Regions from separate parts of the Homo sapiens genome. Here region 1 is linked to region 2. The links are contacts of gene promoters, found by promoter capture Hi-C in human tissues and cell types (Jung and others, 2019). All regions are on one chromosome and are shown on one strand. Each heading gives the region's core, a stretch centred on a gene start or on the middle of the fragment in contact. The rest is flanking DNA. Distances are from core to core; before and after follow the strand shown.

What was found. The method cuts DNA at HindIII sites, captures the fragments that hold promoters and counts their contacts. A contact is called where the count stands out against the background at its distance.
Region 1: a contact is called between a fragment that was not itself captured here and the fragment with the promoter of CRYGS in region 2, in 1 of the 25 tissues and cell types used here (aorta).

What each region holds. Positions count from the first base shown.
Region 1 is chr3:186,219,691-186,226,054 of GRCh38, forward strand. All of the region lies in intron 20 of DGKG (diacylglycerol kinase gamma), which reads right to left. Among named protein-coding and RNA genes, the nearest start is that of ETV5, 110 kb to the left of the region's middle. RefSeq lists enhancers at 968-1,037, 1,796-2,709 and a silencer at 5,971-6,020. The HindIII fragment of the contact is 6,739 bases long and covers 1-4,864 here.
Region 2 is chr3:186,540,525-186,546,192 of GRCh38, forward strand. CRYGS (crystallin gamma S) reads right to left here and starts at 3,856. Exons shown (of 3, transcript NM_017541.4): 1 at 3,782-3,856. The coding sequence starts at 3,802. It overlaps TBCCD1 (TBCC domain containing 1), which reads right to left. Exons shown (of 8, transcript NM_018138.5): 8 at 5,543-5,668. The HindIII fragment of the contact is 9,271 bases long and covers 2,425-5,668 here.

The sequences.
Region 1 (6,364 bases), core at 245-2,744, 320 kb before region 2:
GAGTGGGCAGAAAGATGGAGAACAGGAAAGGGGAGATCTCAAGAAGGGGCTCAGAAAAAAAAAGGCTGAGGAAGGAGGGAGAAACTTGAGTAGGATGTATTTTATTGTATAACTATGGAATCCTCTTAATAACCTCTGAAGACACTTCTTGAGTCATTTCCATGTGTGAGAAATTAACTGTAAAATCACAGATGACATACTGTTTGCAACTAAGAGGTCTTCAGGGTTCAGGGACTTATTATAGCCAGGGGATCACAGGTTCCAAAGAGTTCTTCCAAAGTGTAAATGGAGTCCAGGAGCTGCTGTCAATATGTCTTAATGTAAAATAGTATTTGTGCATTTAATCATAATAAAGACAGCATAGGCTAACTAGTGGGTTAAACTATAATTTTTTTGATGTGCAATGGAATTAAATCAGTTATATCAGTTACTGCTTGGTAACCAGAGACACGGATTGAATGGCAATTGAATCCTGAATAATCAAAATGGGGAAACAAATGATTACTTAGAAGAGCTTTATGGCTGAAAAAAGTCTTACTCAATATGGCACCCATGGTGGGAGGCAGTGGGAGAATGAATAAAAATAGTGCACTATTCCATAGTAAAAGGGTACATGTAAAATTACTACTCTATACCAGGGCTCCATGGTGGTTCTCTTCTAAGCCATGGCAGCCTTCTCACGGTACAGCTTAGGAAACCGAGATCAGTTCTTGGTGATGCAGCTGGGAGGTATGGAGCTGGAATACAAACCCCGTCTTCCAGCCCATACTCCTTACTGGTTTACTCTCCCTGGCTCCTGTTGCTATGCCCCAGAGGCACCTGAGAGAAATGGAAAAGTCAACCGAAGTCACCAGAGCTAGTGACTGCAAAGCTGTGAGTCATTCTCATTCATGCCTGTGAGCTGGGTTTACTCACATCTACCACATGCGCCACCGGTATGGCTGTAGGATCCCAGCTTGAGGTTGGCTGGGACCCTGACACTCTTTAGCAGAGTCCATGATCTGGGCCTCCCCATTGGTCTCCAGTCTCCACTCTTGTCCCAGAGTAACAAAGGGCCAAACCCATAAGCCTCATATTTAGAGCAGCCTCTGTACCCCTTCAAGGGTAATTCTGGGCCCCTAAGAATCTACTGCCTCTGAACAGTGACCCTTCTCTTCCATATAAGACAGTGTGTTTCTGCGGACCAAGGACACATTCTCCATTGATAGGATCTCCGAATTCTGTCTGGCACCTGACAGTATCTCCTCCTAAGGGCAGGACTCCAAGCACGAAGATTGCCAAAGTCTGAAATCGGATCCTTTCCCAGTGCAGCACACAAGGACACACGTGTGCACGTGCGGGCACACACACAGGCCGCAACAAGAAGGCTTCCCTGAGACTCATGATCCACTGTTACCAAATGTGCTCGCAGACACTGCCCCTCTGAGGCCAGAGAGTCTCTCCAAAGGCCCAGCAGCCTGACTGGAGAATGGCCACTGTGCTGTGAAAGGCACCACTTTGGGGGTGGCCCTCAGGGGAGAATGCTGAGGGGCAGGCAAGGCCAGGACCATGTTGTCAGGGTTTTCCTTTCCTGATGGCCTGGGTCTCCAGGGTGTTTTTCCAGTTAGTATCTGTCCTTGCCAAGAGAAAATAGCTCCTTTCCCTCATCCAAAAAGAAAAAAGAAAGAAAGAAAAAACCCTCACAGTTTGGCTGCTTCTTAGCAATCCTTTCTCCCTTTGAAGAGTTATTCGTGGAAAGAAAATCCCCTTCAGGCTGATTTGGCGGAGGGTGGAGGGCATGGAATAAGCTTGCTCTTGGCAGTTAACGGAGAGCAAAGTCAAATACTGGGACAAAAAGAAATCCCTGCCTGGAGGGACGGGGAAAAGGCGGACAGGAATGCTCACTCCTGAGGTTCTGTAGTGATTCCTTAGCTGTGCTTTCCAGCATTTACACATCCATCAGCCCTGGGAACTGGTATCTGAAGGCGGTGGGGACAGTGAAGATACAGGTGGGTGAGGCCTCGTGTTAGAAACTGAGCCTTGAAGGCTTAGAGAAGGTGGCTGTCCTGCTGGAGCTGAGCCTCTCGCTGTGGAAGGTGACTTCCTGGGTCCTGATCAACCAAGACTAAAAGGTGGAACTGTCTGGAGGAGCAGAGGCAAACCCTGGAAGCAGGTCCACACCCTCACACTACCGTGACCGCCGGGTGGGTCCTGAGGGAGCCAGCTGAGCTCTGCCGGCCCCCAGCTGTTGAGAGGAATCTCACTTCCCACTTCATAAATGTTGACCGTGGGTCTGACCTGCACTGGCTGCTTTATGCACCCAAGGGTCGCGCTCTTTTGATCCTCACGTCTACCCCCTGCGGTAGGTACTATGGTGGCTATTTGTAGACGTGTGAGATGGTTGTTCCTTGGCAAACCTACAGCTAGACTGGAACGGGATCACAGAGTCTGAGGGGATGCAGGCTGGCTGATCCTGTTCTCCCCTCTCGCTCCCCAGCCAGTCTTTCTGAACACGAGGCAGTGCCTGCTTTATGATAGGTCGGGTTACAAAAGTTCCTTGGTTAAGCCAGTTGTTTGTCACTCTGAGCACATTTCCCCATAGAAACAATGTGATGTTGAGGTTGGGTTCCCAGGCTAACCCACAAGAGCCAATTAACCCATTAGGTACCCAAACTACAATGTCTCGTTTTAGAGAGAGCTTACTGGAGCTGAAGGAGTTCTGGTGGGAAGGCAGAAAGGCCTGGGTTCAAGCCACAGTTCAGTCACTTACCTGCCATGTGACCTTGGGCAAATCATTTAGTCTGTCTCTTAGTTTCTCTATTTTTGAATTGACACAATATGACCTACCTTGCAGGGGTTGCTGGCAATATTAATTAAGAATACACACACATGGTCGGGTGCGGTGGCTCACGCCTGTAATCCCAGCACTTTGGGAGACTGAGGCGGGCGGATCACTTGAGGTCAGGAGTTTGAGACCAGCCTGGCCAACATGGTGACACCCTGTCTCTACTAAAAATACAAAAATTAGGCCAGGCGCAGTGGGTCACGCCTGTAAACCCAGCAATTTGGGAGGCTGAGGCGGGCGGATCATGAGGTCTGGGAGTTCAAGACCAGCCTGGCCAATACGGTGACACCCCATCTCTACTAAAAATACAAAAATTAGCCAGGCGTGGTGGCGGGTGCATGTATTCTGAGCTGCTTGGGAGGCTGAGGCAGGAGAATTGCTTGAACCTGGGAGGCAGAGGTGGCCACTGCACTCCAGCCTGGGCGACAGAGTGAGACTCTGTCTCAGGAAAACAAACAAACAAACAAACAAAAGAATACACACACGTGTATGTATACTATATATATATATATATATATATGTCTCATGATATACACTCCAATAAAGGCACAGTAGAACTCCATTGTTGTATATAAAACTGGCTTCGTGGCCTCATGATTCTGAGTTCCAACTTAAAGTACAGGGAGCACATCTTTTCCGCTGAATTGGGATTGGGGATCTTTGCTTTCCTCAACTTCCTGGGAAAGAAACCTGGAGACTCCTCTACCCTACATCCCCGGCGGTGACCCTGAAGTCTGGGCTGGAGTTCTACTTAGGAGGGGAATGGAGACGCCAGAGGGAGAGTGAGAAGCAGCAGAAGTGGAAAGGGTAGCAGAGAGCACACACTGAAGTATGCATCCTGTGTCTTCCTTTTGCAATCCTAAAACTCTAGGATGGTCTGGTTATTTCTGCCTATGTTTCCTGTGCCTTCCCCACCATCGGCTGGTTAGAGGCATCTTGTCTAGAATTAAGTCCACGGTAAGTCGCTCCCTCCTTGTTTCCCTTACCTTTCCCATCATGAAATTGTTAGCAAGGCAAGTCAAAAATGCACTCGATAGGGCAGATGCCTGGATAAATACCCCCCTTCTCTTCCCTATTCCATCTTCTTCCTGTGCCAGTTTAAAAAATCTTAAATAGGAAAGCATGAGCCAGAGCCTCGCTCTGCCTGAGAAGACTGCGGTAGACCCTGCCAGCAAAATCCTTTCTATTTCATCCTTTTGAAAATCTCATCCATATGCTCTCTACTTTGCTTCCACTCTGACGTTTGTGACTTCTTATTCTTGTGTATACATCCCTGCCACCCATTTCAGAGACTGCAATTTATGTGAACTTGTCATCCTCACCTGGCCTGGTGGTGCAGCTGTGTGTCCTGCCCCACCATGTCTCTGACTGCAATCTCTAAGGTCGTGCTCCTCTCCCCTAAGGAATACGAATCATTCAGTTTGCCCCTCTCACTGTGTGGTTGGCAAACTTGTCCCAGCTGTAGGTGTGGCCCCAGTGGTCCTCCCAGCCAGTTCCTTGGGAGAGCTGCTTGGCACCACCTTAGCCACGCCTCTTATTTGTAGCTTGCACCTGCTGCCCTTCTGTGGGCTGTGATTTTAGAGTTTAATTTGAACACTCTACTTTATCCTACTTAAATCTCATTTTAAAGCTCTTCTGTTTGGTCCTCAAGTATCTGGCCAAAAATATTCCGCTTGGTTTATGTGATAAGCTCCCAATTCCTTGCCAGGGTCCTCTTATTCCAGCATCAAAATCCATGGTCCAGAAGAACAGTCGTTCTCAGATCAGCTACAGAGCAGCTCTGTGTTCCCCATATGTGCCTGTTTCTTCTAAAATTATGACTCACGGCTGAGGAAGAGACTAAAGCATTGCCTTTGCCCATGTCCCTTAGCTTGCTACCCAAGACATCAAAGGTCACTAGAGATACTAACCAGGATTCCTCCAAATGTGTCATTTGCCACCATGCCCGCAGGCAGACAGGAGAAAGAGTCTGTAAGTTATATGAGTATGTGCACTCGAATGCAGGGGCTTTCACCAATGAATTCGGTAAAATATTGGTCTCAAGAGGCTCTGGGGTAAGGGGATTCTGTGGTCAGGTAAATTTGGGAATGAAATACTTTCTCTTGCTTTTGCATGATCTCAGCAGGTTAGAATCTACATTAAAAGCTCTACAATATCAAACAGAAAAGAATTATGTTTGACTCAATTTTCCAAGTGTATTCAATGATTGACACCCCCCCGCCCCCCAATCTTCTTGTGAATTTCTTTTTAACATCCTGTGGAAGGCATTTTAACCAATGCTACATACTTTAATACATGCTGGAAGAAGACAATCTGGGTAGCTACCTCTGCAGGCTCATGAGGAGTTGAACCTCATGGTAAGTCTGTTAGCTGCTGTGTCTCCCTTCTCCAGAAGGTCCAAATTTATTCTCCTTGTGCAGAGACTATACTTTTAATTTTTTCTCCAAACAGGAATTGGGAATTTCCTCTTTATTTCCATATCTATTTATTAATCAGAGTGACTTCTCTTTATGTTCTCTTTGTCCCCCTGAGTCCCTTTTCTTTCTGAATCATTTCTTTCTTTTTTTTTTTAATGTATTTTATTTACTTATTTTTTTTGAGACAGGGTCTCACTCCATTGCCCAGGCTGGAGTGCAAGTGGTACGATTATATTAATAGTTCCCTGTAGCTCCAAAATCCTGGGCTGAAACAATTCTCCCCTCTCAGCTTCGCAAAGTGTAGGGATTACAGGCATGAGCCATTGCGCCTGGCCCTGAATCATTTTTTTTAATGACATCTAGGAACCCTTTGTCAATGCTTTAAAATTCTCCTCAAGCCCATTCATTCTCTCCTTTGGCAGGAGATCAGTTCACATTTATAGCACCAATAATTTGTGACCAAGGTCAAGCAAGAAAAATAAATAATTGGCCCCCATCACAACCCTAAGGTTATATTTCCTGGACATCAACGTGACAAGTTGGAGGGCCAAGGCTCTTATGGGGCCTGGCAATGTGTTTATTTGGCTTGCATGGTGGTGTTTAAAATTGGAAAATTTTACATACACACCTGAAGCCCAGCTTCTCTTGAGAAATCAGATCTGTTAATACTGGATTGCTTTCCAACCTGGCAATGATCGACGGCCACTGAGAACTGGCTGCTCCCTTTACACAGCACTCAGGCTAGAGTTCTCACCACTCCCTAAAGCCTCACATCTACCCACTTCTCTCATTTACATGAACTGCCTGCCTCTGCATGCGTTTGGATTTGTGACCCCTCATATAGACCGCTGTAGTTTTCCCCTGGGAATTTCCCTGGACGATGCTTCAAAAGTGTCTCCGCTACTTTCTTCCTCAGATCCTTCCTGTCTGAGCTGCTGGTGTCTTTGGTTATGAGTCCTAATACATGTCTGATTTCAAGGGCTGACCAGCTGCAGCAGGGTGAGAGATGAATCATATTGGCATTTGCAAAGATCACATGCACAGAAATAAAATATCATCCAAATCTACCTCTTCTGGGAAATAATATTGCAGTTGCTCTGTGTTTGGAAGTTAGGGCACAACC
Region 2 (5,668 bases), core at 2,606-5,105:
TGAAAACTACAAATGAGCTACAGAGCTTGTCCCTTGTTATTCAATAATTCCACAATCTTTTCATCTTTTTTTTTTTTAAGATGGAATTTCAGATCAATGCTAGGTTATAAACTGAAACCACAGGTGTCATGCTTCGAACCGTTAATTACCTGGCATTATGCCGCCACCTTGTGGCTGATTTACTTTATGGATTTCACGGGCGAAAACTATGTGAGTCATTTCAGATGAAAGGAGCAGAGCCGGATACTGTCTTGAGAGGATCTTTGAGCTGAGCATTGAAGGATAAGTAGGTGTTTTCCAGAGGCAAATGAAAAGGAACAAACATGTTTAAAAGAATAAAGTGAAAGAACATGGCCCATTATAGGGACAATAAGTAGTTCATTAAGTCCAGTACATATTGAATATGTGGTGAAGTACTAGAAAATAAAGCCAGAAAAATGACACCAGAATCATGCTGGAATCCCTTTGGTGATTATGAGTGAGTTGGACTTAGTAGTGTGTGCCTAGAAACGGATGGCTGCTGTGGGCCAGGTGAGAGATGATGAGGGCCAACCAAAAGGCAACTCCAATGTGAATGATGATGAGAAAACAGTAAAGAACTTCAGGATTTGGTGACTAATTAGATGGAGGGAATGAGAGGAAGAAACGAAGAATGACTCATAAAAAGCTATAAAATCTCATTCTCCTCTATCCTGGGTAGTTCTTTCTATCTAGATACTAATATACTAATAATTGTTTCCCTCCACCTTAATCTTTCCCTTCCCTTCCCATTTATCTCAATTATTCTCTTTCCTGTTCCCTAAAAGGGTCCCTTTTCCTTCCCACCCCTAAATCATCTACTTCCTCTCCTTTATCCCCTGCCCAAATTTCTTTATGTGTTTCAGTTCCCTTCCCATCTTAGCACAGTACAGATTTAGATATATGGTACCTCAGTTTACGGATGAAGAAAAAAAAGAAAAGTCTCAATACTACTGCTTTCTTGCTACGTGACCTTGGACAGGGCAATGAACCTTTCTCTACAGCTCTTCATTGGCAAAACAGGATGATAGTGTCTCTTGCAGACGGTATGCTCTGAGGGTCCAAGGGGATGTTGATAAAGTACTTAGTTGAATAGCTGACTCATGATTAGCAATAAGCTTTTGCTACAGTTTTTACAGATGAAGAAGTTAAGTGATTGGCCTAATGTCACTACCTAGTTACAAGTTAGTTGCAGACAAGCTGGTGGGCTGCAGTGCAAAACTCCTGGTGAGTAAACTATTGTTCACTTTATTTTCCTTTGCTGTCTTTCTGCCTGCCCAGTTAGCTTCGTTTAACATGGCAGCACTTACTCTCTTGGACAATGACCAAGGCTGGGCCTAAGCCTCAGGGGCTCTTCCTCATGACCTGTGGAGAGATCTTTAGGAAAGTCAAATAACTTCTCTAAGAATGGATAGATTCTAAACTCCTTAATTCATATGTTCTATTTGCCTTTGGTTTTTGACCAAACAAGTCACTAAAAAGAGCCTTTGCAAAAGATATCCTATGGGAAATGAAGTTAATAATACCATCTATTTCACTTCATAGTTTCTCACATTTACTGCCTTCTGCACATTTGCGTGACTAATTATCAATATCTGCTAAGTAAAAAGATACATGATGCCTGATACGGTCACCTGATGTCCACCCTCCCAGGAGACCAGCCAACCATCCAAAAGTTGAAACAAAGCCCTCATCCTGTTGCTATGGAATCATTACTGAGCTCCAAGACTAAGCTCTCCTTTCAGTGGGAGACCTTCTATATCTCAGAGCCAGAGAATGTTGCACCTAGCTGTGCTCAATTTCTTTTTGTAGAATAACCATGAAATCCATGCTATTGTCAGCCTAGAGGTTTTGACCTTTGGGCAAAATATTTTGTAGAGAAGGCTAAAGAAATGTGCAGAAAGTTTTCCTAGAAATTATTACAAAATTCCTATCATTATCAGGTTTATTTTTGGAAAAATGGCCTACTAATCCAATGCAGCAGAGAGAAAAATATCTTGAGTATCCCAGAAGTAATGAAAACATACTTAGTAAAATCTATTCCTTTTGCCAAGCCCATAACTCCTCTGATTAAACTGCTATCAAGATAGTGGGAAAGGAAGAAGCAATGAGAAAAAGTAAGAAATAATTTACTATCTCCTTTACCCTAGCAAGCAAAAGTTATTTAACTAAATGAACGACTCATCTATAAATAAAAAAGAGTACACTATTACTACTCTGCAAATCTTTAAAAGCAGATGTTTTCATCTAAGATGGTTGTAGAACAGCTTTACCTCAAGATACATGGATATCCCTCCTCTAAGGACCAAAAATTCTTTTTTAGTGGGATTTGCATGGTATATTTTCAAGAACCTCAGAGCACTGAAGACACTAATTTTTCTCCCCAAACCTCCTGAATGACAAGCATGATTATTAGTTCTATTTTCCAATGAAAAAAAAATCAAGCACTAATAAATTACAGAACAAGTTAACAGGTACCTTCTGACCTGATGCAACAGGAAGTACACAACATTGCCTATGTAGCTTTCTTGCCAAATATATTTATTCTGAATCTAAACATGAGGAAACAATTAGACAAATCTAGATTGCAAGACTTTCTAAAAGACATCTAACCTAGGCTTTGAAAAATGTCTCAAGAACAACAACAAAAAGGGTAGAGGGACATTTTTAGAGAGGCTAAAAAAAACTAAAGAGAATAAAGAGACATGACAACCAATTACAATACATGTTTTTCACTGGATCCTGTATTAGGGGAAAAGTCCACCATGAAGCACTTTTCTGGGGACAATCAGGGGAGATTTGAATATGGTCTCAATATTAGCTATTATATTTATGATAACTCTTGGGGACATGCTAGTGATACAGTGTTTATACAGGGAAATGCCCTTGTTTTTAGGAGATACATGCCTAAATACTTAAGGCAAAAGTATAATAAAATCTGCTACTAATTTTCAAATGGTTTAATAAAGAGAGATGGAAATAGGAGAGACCAAATATGGCAAAATGTCAACAACTGGAGAATATAAGTGAAAGATATACAAATATTCATTCAACATTTCTTTGCCATTCTTTGAGGATTCAATGGGTTTGAAAATTTTCAAATAGCTGGGGGTAAAAATCAGGCAGCAGTTTTGTCTCATCAGTGGAAGCGCAAAAAAGAAAATGAAAGCATATTCCCTCATTCCCAAAGCCCTACCTGAAAGAATAATTTCCAATCCAGTAATTGTGAGTTAAATATTTTAGAGGCAATTTTCTGACTGTAAGGGAGCACTTTATTTGAGGAACGAGTAAAAATAATTGCTTGAATGGAAGAGAGATGTAGGACTTTATTCACCTGATTGGCCCATCCACTTTGGCCTTTTAGAACACAAATGGTTGAGGCTAAATTTCAGAAAACAAAATTTTAATTGATTATTAAAAGTTTTCTGCTCAATATAATCCCCATTAGCATGCCTTATTCCTATGGAGAATATCAGTTGCATAGAATATTAGTTGCTAGAAGGCAGAAATAATAATGATATTTATAAATTACCTGTATAGTATTTAACATAGCACCATACATAAAGATAAACCCTTAATAAAGTGTTCGGTAATTCTGTTAAGGGTGGAAAATATAATAAGCATTTCTTAATCTTCTCTCTCAATCCCAGTTCTCTAACCACTATCATACTCACCTCTAGGCAAAGAAGCAAAAGCTTTTCTGTGTGTTGAATGCATCATTAGGTGAAAAGCGGGTAGGCTAAAAATCAATATGACTACTTACCTTGGTTCCAGTTTTAGACATTTTTGGTGCATAGACTGGTTTTCCCAGTGCTGAAAGAAATTCAGGAATGGCTACAGAGAGTTAGAGGCACAGTGACATTTATATGGGCTGGTTTCAGTCAAACATTTGCTTAGTCATGAGAATAGGATCCAAAAATTGAGTCAGTCATTTAGACGCTATTGATGGTTTCTAGAAAAAACAACTGGGATTATAAAATAAAGGAAAGCTTCAGTACCGCCTTTAATGCTTACCAAGCAGGGCTGCATTACAGACTTTGCTGAGTCAAGAAACCAAAACCCAGACAAAGTTGTAAAAATTAAGAACAAAAGAGTCTCTCTTTTTTTTTTTAAGCAGCCTCTTTGAAATTCCTAATGTCCTTTTTCTTCAACAAAGCTTGTGAGAGGTAAGAGTCAGAAGACTACCTCTATTTCTGGACAGAAGTGACATGTTCTAAACGCAACAAAACTTACATGACAACTAAATGCAATGCATGATCTTGTGTTTGGGGAAAAAAGTCACTATAAAGACACTGCTGGGACAATCAGAAAACATTTTAATATGGACTGTAAATTAGATAATACTATTGTACCAAAGTTTAACTTCTTGAATTTGATCATTGTACTATGACTAGGTAAGAGTATGTCTGTTTCCAGGACATGTATGCTACCATTTAGAAGAAAGGTTCAAGATGTCTGCAACCTATTCTCAAATTGTTGAGCAAAAATAAAACAATACTATCATGTTGAGTGGTAAAGAGAATGTAGCAAAATGTTAACAACTGGTGAATGGAATCTAGATAAAGGGTATGTTAAAGTTCACTGACTTATTCTTGCAACTATTATTTAATTTTTTTCAAAACACAATTTTTTTTAAAAAAAGAGCTCTAATCCATAAGAAGGGTGCCACCGTATGTAGAAAAGTGACTGTGGGACTCCTGAATTTGCCAAGGGTTAGCTAACTAAACACAACAAGCTACTGGCTAGGTGGTCTTCTTTGCCCACAATACAACATTGGAACATGATCGGAGAACATTTTTTGGCCCTAATACACCTCTGACTTTAGGAATGAGATTGCATCTTATGTAAATACAAAAAAACCCAATAAATTAACTTTTCTCCATTTTTAACTTTAACTGATCAAGTATATTCTCAAAATCAAGTATATTCTCAAAAGTCAAACTTCCTCATCTTTCTGTTAACAAAACTAACAAATATTTTAATAAATGGGATGTATTATGGTCAATTCAGAAAATGGCAAATGTGCCTTAATATAAAGATTATTGAGAAAATATTAAGCTATATGCTTGGTTTTCTGAATTTTATAAAATTTTATAAAACTTTAAAACTTTAAAAAAAGTATCTGAGTACCATTTATTTCATTAACAAATAGCAATATCTAAAATATATTTCTATTACTCCAGTGTTTATTTGGTAATGGTCTGCTCCTTGAATTTCATCTTAAAATAAAAACCATGTAAACTTCAATTAGAATTAAACATTCTGAGGGTTAATTTTTACTTTAGAAATACAAAAGAGTTTTTTGATAGAAATACTAATTAAATGGCCAGAGAGCATATGAACCAATGTTTATCAGCAATCTGATTCATTTCACTCATTTGGTAATTTGGTAATTTCACTCATTTATCTGAAAGAAGGTTTTCCCAAGTAAATGTAAACTTTACTAGTTATTTTGAGAAATGACACTGGAAACCTTTTCTAAAATTAAAACTAAAGATTTATCTTTTACAAAAAAAGGAAATTATTCTTTAGAGTTTGTTTATTGAAAATTTGAAGCAGGAAGTGAAAAATAAAGATTTTTTTAAACAATTTCATTAAGTTCCATACTTTAAGGACTAAAATATAGTATAAAACTATTTCTATGTCTATA